Regions from separate parts of the Homo sapiens genome. Here all the other regions are linked to region 2. The links are contacts of gene promoters, found by promoter capture Hi-C in blood cells and fetal thymus (Javierre and others, 2016). All regions are on one chromosome and are shown on one strand. The core of a region is centred on a gene start or on the middle of the fragment in contact, and the rest is flanking DNA. Distances in the headings are between cores, read along the strand shown. Region 1 overlaps IGSF9B (immunoglobulin superfamily member 9B). Region 2 holds the start of JAM3 (junctional adhesion molecule 3). Region 3 overlaps VPS26B (VPS26 retromer complex component B). Region 4 overlaps GLB1L3 (galactosidase beta 1 like 3). Region 5 overlaps ACAD8 (acyl-CoA dehydrogenase family member 8). Region 6 overlaps NCAPD3 (non-SMC condensin II complex subunit D3).

Region 1 (2,724 bases), core at 72-2,571, 170 kb after region 2:
AGGAAAAGAAAAGCTAATGGTTAATCTTGGGCTTGCTTTGCTTGCATGTAAAGGAGCTTTGGGGGCACTGCAGGGATGGCTGGGGAGCTGCAGGAAGGGGCAGAGGGTGGAGCTGAGCGGGTCATGGAAGGCTCTGTTGAGTCCAGCCTCTGTGGTACTCTAGGAGCTGTGCACATTCCCACCGGGGCTTCTAACCCAGCCCTGCCTGGGTATCTTCTTCATATAAAGTGGATCTAGTAGGCAGTGTGTAGAGCCCCATGTGGCTGTGTGTGTTGCTTTAGGGAGAGGGCCAAAGAGGTGCCTTATTGGCCAGCTCTAGATTGACTAGGGTAATGGATGGGGCACTGGTGTTTCAGGAGGGGGAGTTGGAGAACTGGAGGGTGGAGGGGAGGCCTGTGTGCTTTGCCAGGTGTTGGTGAGGCTGGAAGGGGCACAGAGGGTGAGGTCAGGCATGGGTTAGGATGGTGAGACCACCCCAGGGGACACCAAGCCTCAGCATCTCTTTGAGTCATGTGATAACTTAGTTACTTGTAAGGGTGCAGGGTACACACTGGGGGATCATCCCAAGATGACGAAGAATGATTGCCTGGTGGGCATCTGGCTGGGGAGTGGTAGCCATGCAGGGCATGTGGGAGGGGGATCTGGGCATCAGGGACGGATTGTGGGGTGGGGTCCTGCATGTGAACGCAGACTGGATCTTGGGAGAGGTCTTGCTTCTTAGCTAGATCTTCCTTGCTTCTTCTAGAATTAGCCTCTAACACTAAGTGCCCAAACCAAACATGGACATCTTCTTTATATTGTATTTCAACTTCATTTGTTTTGGGGGCTCCTCAGGCCCAAAGCTGAGAAACTTGTCTTGAGATGCCCATCCTATCACCAGCTCTTCATCAGTGGAGAAGGAAGTGCCATTCTCATTTTCCTAAGCTGCAGCGGTGGGTTGCCTCTCCGTCCACAATCTGAAAATGTTCATGGGCCTTGGTGATGGTGATGGTGATAGAGAGGGGGAGCTGGAGCCTGACGTGCCTTCATCCCCCTTTCCTCTTGAGGTAGAGAGGCTTCCTTCCGGCCATGAAGTTGCACAGTGGCTTCGTGAGGCCTTCTCTTTACTTTCTCTTCTTTTGATAGGCTAAAGTCACTAGTCTGTGGTGGAGGTGGGAGGGCAAAAGAGTTTCACCTGAAACTCTTGGCTTGACCAGCCATTCTTCTCTCTTTAATGTCTCCAGCTCTGCTTCTTTTTAGATTAAGAGGCAGAATGAAAAATCTCTTCTTTAGAAGAAGTCAGTAAACCAAGGATCAAAGCCCAGATTGGACTTTCGCACTCTTACCAGCTTGCTGTTTGGCTAGGGGTACCAATCACCACCCTTCCCTCTGACTGCGAGTGAATCCACACTGGTTCAGAGCCTTATTTCTGGGTTCCTGTCTGTACTCTCAAAACCTTCTTTCAGGAGCAAGTATAATAACCCCACCAGATGTTCTGTGTGTTGGGTTGCCGAGAAGGTGGAAGTTTTTTTCAACCTCATTTTAAGCTGTTAGAAAAACACTCAGTAGATTGAATTTGGTCCAAAGACACCACCATCCCCTGAGGGATCCCATGTAGGATAAGGATAAATGAAGCATCCATACAGGGGTCATTAATGGCTGCTCACATCTTAGAGAAGGAAGAGTCTGGGTATCTTGGTTGCCATATACTCTGGTGGAACAGTGGCCAGTCATTAAAATCACATGGGTGTTGTCTTCTGCGGTGTAGAAGACAGTAGTAGTAGTTAGGGTTTCGGACGAGAGCTGGTGAAAAGCTACCGGCTTTGGAGCCCTGGCTGGGAGAGCTAGATTGGACAGTTTTAACCCCGTGGCTCAAATGCTCAGCTCCTGTCACTGGTCCTTGGTTGTCACCATTCCCATCACACTAGATGGGGACGTGAATGGCTGCCTGGGCCTGCCTTTCTTTCGGGTCTTGAAGAAGTGTGCTCCACCAATCCTACCTCTCTGTGGCACTGGATTTCCTGGATTTATTTTGCGAACTAGGGCAGGTTCTCCCTCGCCACCCCGTATACACACCAGTTAGCTTCCCTTCCCTTTTCCTTTCCCCACTTCTGTATGGCTCCAGGGATCGTGAACATGTGCGTGGTTTACGATGGGGAGGTGGTGGGAGGGGCAGGGAATCTCGGAGGGCAGGGGGTTGGGCTGGGGAGGTGACTTGCATTTTCGGCCTTAGAAATGCTGCGGGCATGCACGTGTGGGGTTTTCATATAAGCCATGGGAGGGGCGAGTGCCCAGCCCTCCTCACGCTGGTGGTAGAACCCAGGGCTTTGGCCTCCTTTTGGCATAGTGGTCTATGAAGCTGTATTTCTGGTGGAGGGATGAGCCTCCTCACGGTCATCTTGCAGTTCTTGAAAGGGTAGTTGTCAGCCACTCTATCAATGAGGTTTTATATGGCCTCCCATGAACAACGAGAGGTGTGCCATGGCCGACGGTGTCCTGGCAGGGCTGGAGAAGGGATTGTCTCATGTGTCCTTCTGCAGGCACCAGGTTGTCCCCCTGGTCTCTAACCCCCAGCCAGCTGTCTAGTCCAGTGTTTCTTTTCTGGATTCAGGAAGTAAGTGGGGTGTGTGTGTGTGTGTGTGGGGTGTGTGTGTGTATGTGGTGTGTGTGGTATATGTGTGTGGTGTGCATGTCTGTGTGTGGTGTGCATGTCTGGTGTGTGTGTGTGTTGTGTGTGGTGTGTGT
Region 2 (2,700 bases), core at 177-2,676:
TACGCTAAAACTCATCTTTTGTCACAGCCCATCACGAGCATCCCATTAGCATAAAGCACCAAACACAGGAATGCTTTGTTTTCCAAAATCTGTCCACCTTCACTCCTAAACAGTCCCTCCGTGTTTTAATTTGTATATTCTGGAAAACATCATGGGATGACAGTGGCAATTCAAACAATAAAATAATCTAAGAACCGAAAAAGGTCCTGGTCTGGTTACCTGCGGATGGCTGCCAGGGGAAGAGTGTGGTGTCCTGCTTTAGGTAAATATGAAGTTGAGGCTTCACTACTTAGAATGCAGCCTTGGAAAGCAGACTAGACTTGACTCTGAAAATGGATTAATGAAACCTATCTCACAGAGCTGCTGAAAGGAGTAAACGAGATAATGGCTCCAAAGTGCCTAGTAGACAGTACAAGCTCACTAAAGGAAAGCTATTTTAGTCCTCTGTACAACTGTCCAGGAAAATGTGGATCTAATGAGAATTCCAAACAGAGGGAAAGAAAATGCACAAAACTATCAAGTTTATTAGTGTGTCTTGATCAAATGCCCCGAATGCTATTTCCGGATAAGAGTCTGCGTGGTCTCCTCGGCCAGGCCAGAGACAAAAAAGGTACTGGATTGATATCCATTTTATTTCTGTAAAAGAAAAGCAGTTCCTTTGTGTCGAGTCAAATGAACTGCAGATCCCCAGAGGGCTGTGACCAAGCAGCCCGCCAGGCCTCGGAGCTCTGCCTCGCCGGTCCTCAGCTACGTCCCCCGCTCACCGTCCCTTCTGGAGAGCACAGCACTGCTGCGCAGGGTCTTCCAGCAAGTTCCAGCGCCCACGCCGCAGCTGCCGCGCTCCCTCCAGAGGGCCGTGCCCACCGCCCGGGAGGGGTCCACCCCGGGGACGAGCCCACCGCCCAGCACAGGACCCCGCCTGGGAGGAGCCCACCCGGGGGATGAGCCCACCGCCCAGCACAGGACCCCGCCTGGGAGGAGCCCACCCGGGGGATGAGCCCACCGCCCAGCACAGGACCCCGCCCGAGAAGAGCCCGCCCCCGGGGTCCGACGGCTGTCCGGGACCGACTCACTGCCTGGGACGGGCCCCCCATCCCAAATTAGCTCCCCGCCCCGGTCCAACTGCCGGGCGTCCCAGGGCCCCCGCCCTAGCCAGGCCCGAGTCCCAGCCCTGGCTGCGGGGACGCGGGCGCGCGCCGCCCCTCCGGCCCGGGACCCCGGGAGCCCTCGGAGCCAGGACCGCTATCCTCGCCCGGACCGGCTCCAGCAGCTTCGGCCCGCTCTGCTTCCGTCGCCCCCAGACCCTAGTCTCCCAACAGCGGAAACGCGCAAACTCACCCCTGAAAAGCAGCAGCAGGAAGAAGTCAGGCAGCCGAGCGCAGAGCCGGAGTCGCGGTGGCCGCCTCAGCGCCATGTCGAGGGTTGCTGAGGGGCCAGCGGCAGCGCGGCGCGGCTTGTAGTCCCCGCGCGCATGCGCCCAGCCTGCCAGGACCCTGCGACCCGCCCCAGTTACCATGGCGACCGCCGGGCCCAGCCGAGCCGGCACCATGGTGACAGAGGAAGCTGAGGTCTAGCTGCTTACGGATGCAGCGATGCTCTGGACCGGCACATGGGTTCTCTTTCAATGAACTTGGCGGGAGGAGAGTAAAGAAGTATGTACAAGAGTGAAGCAGGGTATATTTCCATAGCTATAGAATAAATCCATCACAACAGGTCGGAGAAGGAACACTCCTTTAAAATTTGGGAAATAAAGTATTTCTTATTTTACAAATAAGGATGCAGCCCAGTTATCTTGGAAGCATTATCGCCTTCACATCTTTTGGGCCCCCAATTCCAAATTGATGGAAGGAAAAGAGCTGAAATCTGCTTAAAACATAAGCAATACATACATTATACAGCATATAAAAGTGATGTCTTGCTAAAATAATTTGTTTATGTGGTAGATCAAAAGCATGATGGCATACCCAATAGTTTATTCTGCAGAAAAGCAGACTAATTATTTGCTCTGATTTCTGAATACTGGGAGATAGTAAAACCAGGGAAGAACAGGTAAGATGAGGACAAACAGGAAAAATGAAGAGAAGGATAAATTAAAGCAGAAATTAGATCTAAAAAAGCAAGAGTATTTAAAGTCTCACTTAATACTATGGAAAATACTTGAAAAGCTTGTATTTTAGCAAGTATAGAAAGTACACCTCCAATGTTCCCAGAAACAGCAGTCTAGCAACAGAATTCTGAATATAATTGTTAGTAAAATAAGCCAGTTTCCAACTAATATTTTTAATGTTTAACTTTTTCATATACTCATGCTACTTTTTTAGTATTTTTAGTTTTCATGCAAAATAGAAGTATATTTACATATTATGTATACCAAATTTATATATGTAAAAGCCGGGAAACGTGAAATAGATTGAGATTGTTGCCAAGAATATGCTTCAGTTTCCATCACTGTATAATCTTCTTTGTAAATCTTTATAACTGCTCAGATCTTTATGTTAATTGATTACCTTCTCAAAAATCTTATAAAGACAGAATAAAAATTAAAAAATAACTCAATTACCTACTATGATTCTGTCTTTCCTTTCATAAATCTTCTTTATGTTCCAGGTCACCATGCACTAAATCACAAGTAAAAGTGTGTAAAAGTTGTTTTATAATGGTGGCCTCTTTCCCTTTATCAAGCACAAAATCGAGAAATTA
Region 3 (2,700 bases), core at 194-2,693, 160 kb before region 2:
GAACCAGCAGACATCACTTACCGTAGCTTCACATTCTGCCCTGTGTAGGACTCATACGGCTTCTCCACGTGGGTAAACTCAAAGTCGAAGGCCTGCGACTGGGTGATCTCTCCAGGCCGGGCCAGGTCCTTCACCAGGGACACAAACTCATGGTGGTTCCCGCGATCGTAGTAGAGTTCTGGTGAGAGACAGCGATGCGACGCCCTCCTTTATCAGACCCTGAGCTACACCGGGCCGAGTAGGGGGCTGGAGGCTGTAGGCTGGAGGGACTGCTTTCTGGAAGGACCTCCCTGCAGAACAGACCCCTTCTAGCCTTGTTTTCTTGACCTCTGCTCTTTCACTCCCTCCTTCTTCTCCAAAGGCTTTTCTGTCTTATATAGTGAAATCCCGTGGCAGAAAAGGAACCCAAAATAATCCTGCTCCAAGACACTCGGACACCATCTTTTAATAAGGGTAAGTCATGGGAGCCAATATAAGAAATGCCACACTTCTTTAAACAGCATTTAACACTTCCAACTTCCGAAAGGATATAGCTATTTAATCATATCATCCTTATAATAATAATCTTCTGACACAGCTAAGACAGGTCTTATCACCCCGTTTAAAAGACGATGGAAACCCAGGCACAGCATGCTTAACTGACTGGCCTGGAGTCGCAGAGCTGGCTGCAGAGCTGAGACTAGAGCAGGTCTCCTTCTAGACTGCGTCTATTTCTATCAGCTGGTATAATGCAGGTCATGACACAACCTACTTCACAAGGCTCTGTGTGAAGTAGCAGGGGTGATGTAGGTAAAAGACTTAGAACAGTATCTAGTACACAGCAAATACTCAAAAACATCGTTAGTAGCTGCTGTTATTACTCCAAAAGGAAGGCATGTGGCCAATCGAACATGGACATTTTCATGTTATTCCCTCCACTGAAATCAGGGGGTGTCGAACTTTAGTGTGCACCAGAGTCACTGAGAGAGCTGGTTAACACACAGATGGCTGGACTCCACCCTAGTGTTTCTGATTCAGGAGTCTGGGATGGGGCCTGAGAACTGGCCCTTCTGATAAGCTCCCCAGGACGGCTGCTACCACACTTCCACGCTTTAAGAAGCATTGCTCTAAATTTATCCTCTTCAGGAAATAGTTCTGGTATTTTTTGATGATAAGTTCATGCCACCCATTTGTCCTATATTATTTTATGTTTGCTTATATTCTATTTAAGTATAAGTTTTGCTACATACCTGGTCTCCCCCGCTCCCACTGTGGACTGCAGGCCCTTTAAAGATAAGGCCCACATCCCCAGCTCCCTGGTGCTTCCTAGAACCTGGCCCTGCACAAGTGAGCTTTTTTTGTTTGTTTTTTGAGACAGAGTCTCGCTCTGTCGCCCAGGCTGGAGTGCAGTAGTGTGATCTCGACTCACTGCAACCTCCGCCTCCTGGGTTCAAGCAATTCTTCTGCCTCAGCCTCCCAAGAAGCTGAGACTACAGGCATCTGCCACCACGCCCAGCTAATTGTTTTTGTATTTTTAGTAGAGATGGGGTTTCACCATGTTAGCCAGGATGGTCTCGATCTCCTGACCTCGTGATCTAACCGCCTTGGCCTCCCAAAGTGCTGGGATTACAGGCGCGAGCCACCGTGCCCGGCCGAGGTAAGCTCTTAATACTGACTGTGGCTATGCATGGCCACATTACAGTTCAAGCCACCACCCCTCAAGGATTCTGTGTTCAAGTCCCGTGCTAGACTGCAACTTGCAGCGGGGCAGATGAATTGGGAACACAGAGCAGGCGGAGCACACTCATTGCCTCTGTTGTTTGCTGCTTGGGGAGGAAGAGGCGAGTCCACAGACTGGAGTCTCTGGGATCCCACACTAGTGATGCCACTTCTGTATGAATTCACAGTGTATTGTGTGGCTGTGGCTTGTGGCTGATTTCCCGTGTAACTACAATCAGCCACAATCTTTTATTACAAACAATGACCTTCCTTTCCAAACACTCAGTGGTTTCAATAGTAGGCAGCATTCTGGTTAGTGAGTGATAATCCACAAAGCCTCAGAGTGGGAGGTGGCAGCTCCAAATTATGGGTGGAAAGTGAGCAATCCAGTAATTGTGCCCCCCCAATAAAAGTCAGAAGTATATGACAGGCAGAAGCGGAGCCGCGGCCAGCCCCGGGGACAGGGACTCCTCGGCTTACTCTTGTTGCATGAGTCCTGGTCGATGGTGTTGGCTTTCGTGTGGAAGCCGAAACCTTGACTTGGGAACCTGGTACCTCAGTTTCTAAGCACTAGATTCTGGCCATAGTTTCAGGGGACAGAAGCAGGCAGAGCAAGGCCCCAGTGTCCAGAATCAATGGTCCAGAGTCAAGAGGAAGAGGAGAAGAAAAGGATGGAAAAATACAGAAATGCGATCACACAGCCCAAAGGCAACATCAGGAATAAACAAAACAGAGAAGGCACAGAGAGCGCTCAGGCTGCCAGCATTGTGGAGCCTAGCAACAGTGCAGAAGGTTCGGCCTGCCCCAGCAGGGCACCTGGAGCAGGAGAAGTCATTCCCTGCATAGCATCACGTTCTCCCTAGTGCCTTTCCTCCTGCACACATGTTAATATCAGCTCTGACATCAAATGTCATGGAAGAGTGGCCAGTGTGCAGTCACAGCAGGGCTGGCCTGGCCTTTTTAATCTATCCTTTATAAGCCATCTGCAATACTTCTGCAAAC
Region 4 (2,700 bases), core at 4-2,503, 210 kb before region 2:
CCTGACCTCAGGTGACCCCCCTGCCTCGGCCTCCCAAAATGCTGGGATTATAGGCATGAGTCACCAAGCCTGGACTGAATACCTGTTAAATGAATTATGATACATCCCTACTAGGGAACAGTGTGCAGGCACTAAAAAGAGTGGCTGGTTTCAAATCTACGTATTTCAAGTAACAAAAGAAAAATGCCTGAGAGGCATAGACACGTGTGTATAATTTGCTTCTGTGCTGATAAAATCTCTAAAAAGAGACACAAAATCTAGTAAAATTGGTTGTCTCCTGAAAGGGCAACTAAATGGCTTTGGGACAGGGTGGAAGGTGAGATTTTTATCTGACCAAAAATTCATTTGTACCTTCTGAGTCTTTTTGCCATGTCAAAAGTGGAAAGAAGCAATGGGAAGATTGGCAAGCTTGAGGAATAGTAAGTTCATGTGGACAACCAGTCCCTGCCTTGTGTGATGAGTCTTTCTAGCAACCCTGGGGAAGCTTACCCGGACAACAAGGACAGGACAGGTCAGTGCTTCTGTCCTCAAGCCAAGGGTCCAGAACTCAAGGTTACAAGAAAGTCAACTCAATTGTTCATGGAGACTGCATGTGGCCTCTTCAGTGATCAAGCCAGAACAAACTCTTTCCCTAAAGGGCACGTAAGAAAGATGCAGGGGACAATTTGGCTTTACCTGGAGAGGAATCACTCTGGGAATCAGGTGGTCAAAATACTTCTCAACTGCTTCAATGAAGCTCTTGTTGGTTGTCCTCAACAGTAACCGGGGGTCTTGCAGGAGCCAGCTGGGGGCAAGAGGGGCGGGCTCAGGGTCTGAGACGGGTTGGGAGAGGGAAGCAGGAGTGGGCTCAGAGCTGCCCCGGCTCGCCGCACATCTGCCCAGCTGCCTCACACCCCCGGTCCCGGAGCACTCGGGTCCTGGAAAGATCTGTGCCGCGTGAGACTTTCAGACCATTCTCACAGACTTGTGGGATTTGAAAGGAAACGGCCGCCTCCACCTCCAAGGCACTTCACAACTTCGGAAAGGCCTTCAGCTCTATTTGGTCTGACTGAGGGGCTGGCCTGTCAAGGCTCTTACAGCCATGTCTTAAAGAGCTTTTTCTTCTACCTTTTGGTGAACACTCTCTATTCTTTTTCAGTTTATTGAAAACATTTTTTGGTCAGGCGCGGTGATTCATGCCTATAATCCCAGCACTTTGGGAGGCCGAGGTGGGCAGATCACCTGAGGTCAGGAGTTCGAGACCAGCCTGGCCAACGTGGCGAAACTCCCGTCTCCACTAAAAGTACAGAAATTAGCCGGGTGTGGTGGCGGGCGCCTGTAATCCCAGCTACTCAGGAGGCTGAGGCAGGAGAATCGCTTGAACCCGGGAGGCAGAGGTTGCAGCAAGCCGAGATCGCGCCACTGGACTCCAGCCTGGGTGACGAGAGCAAGACTCCGTCTTAAAAAAAAAAAATTCTTGGGGACAGAAAAAATTTCCTTAGGCACAGTGTCACATTTCCACTAAGGGCTAAGGCTTCAGGCTCAGGGCAGGAGCCTACGTGCCAATGATACTCCACCCACTCCAGGTCACTGGGGAAGTGCCAGGCAGGCCTCCAGCCAAGCTATGCCGGGAGTCACTGCTTCCCGAAAACTCCACTCCCCTCAGCTCAGGCTTTCTCTGCCCCTGGAGAAAAGCAAAGACCTCTCTCTTCATCCTGGAGAAAAGCAAAGGCCTCATCTGACTCTGAGGTGCAGAGGTGCTCACTGGAGGCAGAGCCCCAGATTCCCCAGGAAGCCCTGCCCACCACAGGGGTGGCAGAGAGGAGTCTTGGAGTCTCACCCTGACCCTCAGCAGTCTGGGCTGGGGGCCAGAATCACAGAGGAGAGAACAAGGCAAAGAAAAGCAAGAGGGAAGGGAGGGGAGCTGAGGGTGGTCTCACTGCATGGAAAGGCAAGCCTTCCCCTCACAAAATAAGCGAAAGATCAGAAGTTTTCAAAACAAGCCGAGTCGTCAGAACCTTCCCTTGCAGGCCTTAAAGCTTCTGGTCCCTTTCTTCCCAGGGCATTTTGAGAAGGACAGAGGAGGCTACAGCCCCTCCTGCATGGGGAAAGAAGAGTGGGAGCCTCTTGTGGCCACCTCTCCCCGCGCACACCCTCTTGACCGCATGCCCAAGGCCCCAGGACCAACGTCTGGAGCTTCTCATCTGTGAATCGGGGATGACAACTGCACCCCGCCCCCCGCCACCGCAGTACCGCAGGCTTCCCACAAGACAACACAGGCACGGTGCGTGGCGTGGGGCAGCACACCTCCCATCGGCTCCGTGAATAAAGGTTACTTTCCTTGTTACTAGCTTGAAATTCACTTTTTTTAAAGCAAATACTTCACTAGAACCACGACTCTGGGACTGTAGCCCCGCTTACCTGGGCAAGCCCCCGAGGTCCATCTCACTGCAGATGTAGCGGCCTGGACGCAGAATCACCCACAGCCCGATCTCTGCGGCCATCAGGACGAAGGCCCTAGGGAGGTCCACATCGTCAGCCCCTCCCACGACGGCCCAGGATGAGGCCGGGTGGGGGCCACACGCATCACAGGGTGGAGGAGCTGCCTGGTGGGGCGAAGGGACGGCTCGGCCCCACCCCCAAAGCGTGGGGACTCCCACACCAGGTCGGTGGCCTGAGCTGCTCCCAGCCTCAGAGCCTCTGCACAGCCCCATCGGGGGC
Region 5 (2,700 bases), core at 45-2,544, 190 kb before region 2:
GTGCCTCTAATTGAAAACCACAAACTATCTACAATCTCCCAGTTCCTCTCTGGCTCTGAAAATAGACTGCCTTTACATCATTTCCTTGCTCTCTTTTGTTGATAGGATAAACTCCATTTCTAAGCCTTTTACTGAAGGTCTTCCTGCCCAGGAGTTAGCATGGGCTTCACACACAGTAGAAGCCTAGGAAATGGTTGCTGTGTTACCAAAGAGAAGGGGATGCTAAAATGCATAATGCCTTACAGTTACAGAGGATCAGGAAGGATCCTGTAGGAAAATACAGAAACCCGAGGAGCTGTGAGAAAGAGGTACACTTAGGGGTCATTTCATTACCTGCCTTCTCTCACAAAGTCCCCCCATAACAGTACAAACTAGAGAGAGATGACTGCTTTGAGCATCTGGTCTAAAAAATCTGAATGGGTCTTGAGCCCTTATTACCAATTACGGTTACATGATCACAAGTCTCCTGTTCATGCCCTGGCCATGGCGGCTCTTAATCCTAGAAGTATCTTACTTTTCAAATTACTTACAGTACCTAAGTGTCCTTCTTGGGTTGCTGAAATACCCACAATCATCTCCAATGAGTTTTACTTTATTTTTAATCAAAGAAGCAAAAGGGACCACACGCCTTCCATTACTGAGACTTGTGGCCAACACCAGGTCTTCTCTAAGCGTCTCTTCCTGGAGCAACAAAGTGCACCAACGTAAGCAGCTGGATAAGGAACACAGGCCAAAAGCAGAGGCAGGAGAGGTCAGAACACTCACAGGTGGCTTGAAGAATTTACTGGCAAACATTGTCACTTTCCCCAGAGGCCTAGTGTTTAATAATGCCCTGTTGTATTTCATATGCTCCTGTTGAAAATCCTAATAGAAGCAACTGCTTCAAAGGTAGGTTAGCAAGTATGCAAACCTGTTTTCTGAAATAGAGCAGGAGTTGGGCTGGCAGGTGGCAGAGTCTCATAACCTGAATTGTTTCCTGTCCAACAGCCACTCACCTTTTTCTCCTTCTTGCCAAAGCTGAGGCCAGGGGTCCCCTTCTCAACAACTATGCATGAGATGCCCTTGGGGCCTGGTCCTCCTGTTCGGCACATGACCACATAGATGTCTGACTCACCAGCACCACTGATGAAGGCCTGTGGGGGTAAAAGGGGTGCAAAAGGACCAGGGAATGCTTGAGTTCTCACAGCGTCTGGGAACACCACTGGGTCCTCCTGACAATAAGGTCCAATGGCACAGAGACTGACAATAAGGTCCAATGGCACAGAGACTGACAATAAGGTCCAATGGCACAGAGACTGACAATAAGGTCCAATGGCACAGAGACTGACAATAAGGTCCAATGGCACAGAGACTGACAATAAGGTCCAATGGCACAGAGACTGAGGTGAGGTAAAAGGTCGCTGCAGTGACTGCAGATCAGAGAGGCAGTCCAAGAGAGTATAAAAAGGATAGACAAAAGTCAACGAAATGATCTGGAATCAGATTAGGAGAGATACAAACAGTGAGAATAAAGAAAGAGAAATGGGTCAGAGGTTCTCTTCCCAACACATAAAAATCCTATGGGAGTATTAACCCGCGGATGTGAAGGAACCAGAGGATGTCAGGAGGAAGCTGGGAACAATCTCCAAAGTGCTCTGGGAGGACGCACGCTAGTACCTTGGAGCCATTGAGGATGTAATGATCTCCCTGTTTCTTAGCGGAGGTCAGAAGAGAGGCAGCATCACTCCCACTTCCTGAGGAGGGATCAAAAGGCAGCAGAGAGAAGGTGAGAAAGTCAGTGAGGTCGAGGGAGCCCAGCACAATTCTATCTTCTAGGAAATCTTCTCTAAACAGACCCTGCTCAGAGTGTGTCACTGCAAAACCCAAGTGGCCAAAGGAACTCTCTGTACTTGGTGGAAACTGCTCATACCAGTCAGGCCACTGCCTACCTCCCAACACACCAGATAGGCTTCTTGGTCCTTGTGACATCAGGTCACAGGACTCTATTACTCCTCAACCAAACAGCTAGATAAACAGTGGCTCGACATGTCAAGAGGCTGGAAGGAGTGCTCGGTAATGCCATCTGAGCAGGAAGCATCTCTCCCTGCTATATCTCAGTGCAGTGTGGCAAATTCACCTGGTTCAGTGAGGCAGTAGGAAGCAAACTTCTCCATGGTACAGAGCGGTGGGCAAAATTTGTGCCTCTGTTCCTCATTTCCGAAGCTATCAATCATCCAGGCACACATGCTGATAGGTACACCAAGAAGAAAAGACAATGACAGAAATAAAGATGGAAAAGAAAAAAAAATGGGGGAGAAGGGGAAAGAGAACAAAGGGCAGGGCAGTGGAGTAAAGCAGAAGAGTGGGAAGGGGAGAGTCACAATTGGGAAGACTCTTTAAAGGCAAACGGTGGATTAAAACATATTCCTGGAATAAGGACTACCCAGAGATAACCAGGCTGAGGTACTTCTCACCAGCACGTTTGTACTACTTCTAGTTAGGTTACACGAGCCTCTAAAAATCAGAGTTATATGTGCTTTCTATTAGTAGTTTCTATTACTTCCTCAAATCACTGGCAGTTCCATCTTTGGATTGAGGAAAAGGGTGAGAGGGGCCGGGTGCGGTGGCTCACATCTGTAATCCCAGCACTATGGGAGGCCGAGGCAGGCAGAACACAAGGTCAGGAGTTTGAGACCAGCCTGACTAACATGGTGAAACCCC
Region 6 (2,700 bases), core at 106-2,605, 140 kb before region 2:
ATTATTTGTGTTGATATGCTATGGAAATTTTGTAGGTTGTCACCCGTGGTCAGCATGGATACCTGGGTTTTGCCTCCAGGTTACCTGAACGCCACTACTACTAGAAACTTTGCAGTTAGAGTTAGTTGCGCATGATGCTGTTACTAAACTTAGATGTCTTAAATGAAACAATAAGATTTTGCAAAAAAATGTGTTGGACCAAGGTCATGTGGCTTTTGGTATCTGCGACGCGTTACCTTGCAGAGGCAGTAACCTGGTTACGAAGATATTTTTGGGGATGCTTGGGGGGTTCCGCACATCTGTGTTTGCTTTCTGACTTCACCACTTACTAGCTGTGGGTCCTTGAATGAGCCATTCACCCTGGCTAAAGCGTTAGATTTCACTTATGGACAAAAAGGACCAAAGTCTACCTTCTTTATCGATTTGTCACAGGATTAAATGAAGTTGAGCAGGCCGCCTACCGAGCACAATGCCTGTTGTTTAGAAACATTCGGTATTTTATAAGTTTAGTATCTTTATCACTTCTGTGTGCTTGAAATATGAATGTGATAACATTTACAGTAATGTTTTTAATTCGCATGCCCTTTTAAATATTTTAAACAATAACATAGGTGGGAAAATTCATCCCTTTAGGTCTACTGTGTCTCTAAAGATGGTTTTTTTTTTTTTTTTTTTTTTTTTGAGACGCAGTCTCGCTCTGACACCAGGCTGGAGTGCAGTGGCATGATCTCGGCTCACTGCAACCTCAGCCTCCCAGGTTCAAGTGATTCTCCTGCCTCAGCACCCCCTAGTGGCTGGGACTACAGGTGCGCGCCACCATGCCCAGCTAATTTTTGTATTTTTAGAGATGGGGTTTCACCATGTTGGCCAGGATGGTCTTGATCTCTTGACCTCGTGATCCACCCTCCTTGGTTTCCCAAAGTGCTGGAATTACAGGCGTGAGCCACTGCGCCCAGTCGGTATTTTTTTTTAATTGTGAAAGTACTGACTTGATGTCAGGCAATGTTGGTTTTTAGCCTTATTTTTAATTATTTGATCTTGGACAGCTCACCTTTGGAGCTTTTTTTAATTATCTGTGAAGTGGAAATTATACATGTCCTGCTTACATTATGGAATTGTTGTAAGGTTTAAAATTAAATGTATATTTTATATATATATAGTAAAATCTAGCTATGTAGATGAAAGTGCTTAATGCAATACCTACCACTTACTTGGTTTTCAGTAAATGTTTTATTTATTGGATGAATAAATTAATTAGTGACTATGTTATATGAGATAATATGTTGGAAAGTGCTTTGTAAACTGGAGGCAAAAAGCAGGTGTAAAGTATCGTTCTTTCCCCTTTTGAATAAGGGAACATTAGTAGCATTCTTTGCCCTATGTAAATGACAGTTAATTCCCTATTTGTCCTAAATTCTGGGTTATGATATGCAAAGGGTGGGGAGAGAAACTAGGTATTGTTTTTATCAGACATATCATCTGTCAGCCATTCTTTCACACTGTTTACATTGTGCATTTATTGTATCCCTGCTCATTGTTTAAGAAATATATCCCTAGTGTTCAGCCAGCAATTATGCCAGCCTGACCTACCTTCAGATGGCTTGAAATGGTTTACTACAGTCTGCATCACTATGTCTGAGACCCTTGTGTTCTCCATCCGATCTTAAATTGAATTTTCTTTTCTCTTCTAGGTCATCAGTTGTGTTTTCCATCAAATGCTCAGTGTAATATTAATGTTAGAAGTTGGTGAAGGATCCCATCGTGCCCCCCTTGCTGTTACCTCCCAAGTCATCAACTGTAGAAACCAGGCGGTCCAGTTTATCAGGTGAAGCACACAAATCGTGAATTTTCACCCTGTCAGTCTCCCTCAGTACTCTGGGCCCTGCACTAAGATTTCTGATACATGTAGACTTAAAATTTCTGGCCTGATGGTGGTTTTGGGGGTGAAAACCAAGCACTTCGTAGCTAATGTGCTTTATGTGTCTGGGTCTCTGTTGGTAGGCTCCCAGCTGGGGCACTGTTAAAGAGATAGGAATCTGCAGAACACGGGCCAGCGCCAGCCTCCAGCTTGTTTGCGCTCAATATGTGGGTCAGCCTCAGAGAGAGGATGGTGGCCTCTCCTCCTTTCCCTTGTCTGCTTCATTGCAGCCAGTTCACCTCTTTCCCTTTTCTGTTGCTCTCTACTTTGCAGCTCTTTGCTTTTGTTCTTTGCCACTTTCTTCTTGTTTCTTTGCACTTTTCTATTCCTTTCCCTCTGTAGAAATGACTTGAAGGAAAGGATTGAGTTGCTTTTTACCTCCGTAGCAATAAGTGTTAGACTACTTTTCCTCTCATGGGTCACTCAGCTTCACTTAAAAACTCTCATGCCTTAGTTTCACTGGCAAGGACATGTTTGCTGCGTTGTTGGCTTTTCCTTCCCTCCTTCACTGATTTTTGGCGTGCAGTGTGGAGGTGGTGCCGAGACATGGTGTGCATGTGCAAGTGTGTGCATGCCTTGGGTGTGCACAGTGTGCAGGGTAGTTGGAGACATGGGGTGTGTATGACGTCATCTTGTGACTGAGCAAATGTCTCTCACTAAGGACTTTTTAAAACATTAAGTAACTAAAATGTTTTAAGTGAAAACACGATCGTTTCGTTTTTTCCATGAGAGTTTCTCATATGCCAGTCGCAATAGTCTTCATGTAATGTTACAGATAAACA

Evidence for each region. The method cuts DNA at HindIII sites, captures the fragments that hold promoters and counts their contacts. A CHiCAGO score of 5 or more calls a contact.
Region 1: a fragment that was not itself captured here is called in contact with the fragment with the promoter of JAM3 in region 2 in 1 of 17 cell types (non-activated CD4 T cells); the score reaches 6.9 in non-activated CD4 T cells.
Region 3: a fragment that was not itself captured here is called in contact with the fragment with the promoter of JAM3 in region 2 in 2 of 17 cell types (naive B cells and total B cells); the score reaches 6.2 in naive B cells.
Region 4: a contact is called between a fragment that was not itself captured here and the fragment with the promoter of JAM3 in region 2, in 3 of 17 cell types (fetal thymus, naive B cells and total CD8 T cells). The highest score is 5.4, in fetal thymus.
Region 5: a fragment that was not itself captured here is called in contact with the fragment with the promoter of JAM3 in region 2 in 1 of 17 cell types (total B cells); the score reaches 6.4 in total B cells.
Region 6: a contact is called between a fragment that was not itself captured here and the fragment with the promoter of JAM3 in region 2, in 7 of 17 cell types (naive CD8 T cells, naive B cells, fetal thymus and 4 more). The highest score is 7.8, in naive CD8 T cells.

What each region holds. Positions count from the first base shown.
Region 1 is chr11:133,902,466-133,905,189 of GRCh38, reverse strand. It overlaps IGSF9B (immunoglobulin superfamily member 9B), which reads left to right. Exons shown (of 20, transcript NM_001277285.4): 20 at 1-2,724. Among named protein-coding and RNA genes, the nearest start is that of MIR4697, 5.2 kb to the right of the region's middle. The HindIII fragment of the contact is 7,551 bases long and covers 1-2,724 here.
Region 2 is chr11:134,067,798-134,070,497 of GRCh38, reverse strand. It overlaps JAM3 (junctional adhesion molecule 3), which reads right to left and starts at 1,426. Exons shown (of 9, transcript NM_032801.5): 1 at 1,339-1,426. The coding sequence starts at 1,414. RefSeq lists a silencer at 1,432-1,621. The HindIII fragment of the contact is 4,850 bases long and covers 1-2,167 here.
Region 3 is chr11:134,232,375-134,235,074 of GRCh38, reverse strand. VPS26B (VPS26 retromer complex component B) reads right to left here. Exons shown (of 6, transcript NM_052875.5): 2 at 22-178. Among named protein-coding and RNA genes, the nearest start is that of VPS26B, 9.1 kb to the right of the region's middle. The HindIII fragment of the contact is 6,943 bases long and covers 1-2,700 here.
Region 4 is chr11:134,281,821-134,284,520 of GRCh38, reverse strand. GLB1L3 (galactosidase beta 1 like 3) reads right to left here. Exons shown (of 20, transcript NM_001080407.3): 5 at 2,401-2,496; 6 at 676-784. Among named protein-coding and RNA genes, the nearest start is that of GLB1L3, 6.8 kb to the right of the region's middle. The HindIII fragment of the contact is 1,534 bases long and covers 487-2,020 here.
Region 5 is chr11:134,258,041-134,260,740 of GRCh38, reverse strand. ACAD8 (acyl-CoA dehydrogenase family member 8) reads right to left here. Exons shown (of 11, transcript NM_014384.3): 4 at 2,117-2,226; 5 at 1,657-1,733; 6 at 996-1,133. Among named protein-coding and RNA genes, the nearest start is that of ACAD8, 5.8 kb to the right of the region's middle. RefSeq lists a silencer at 111-160. The HindIII fragment of the contact is 4,357 bases long and covers 1-2,700 here.
Region 6 is chr11:134,205,724-134,208,423 of GRCh38, reverse strand. NCAPD3 (non-SMC condensin II complex subunit D3) reads left to right here. Exons shown (of 35, transcript NM_015261.3): 8 at 1,692-1,825. Among named protein-coding and RNA genes, the nearest start is that of NCAPD3, 17 kb to the left of the region's middle. RefSeq lists a silencer at 840-899. The HindIII fragment of the contact is 8,331 bases long and covers 1-2,700 here.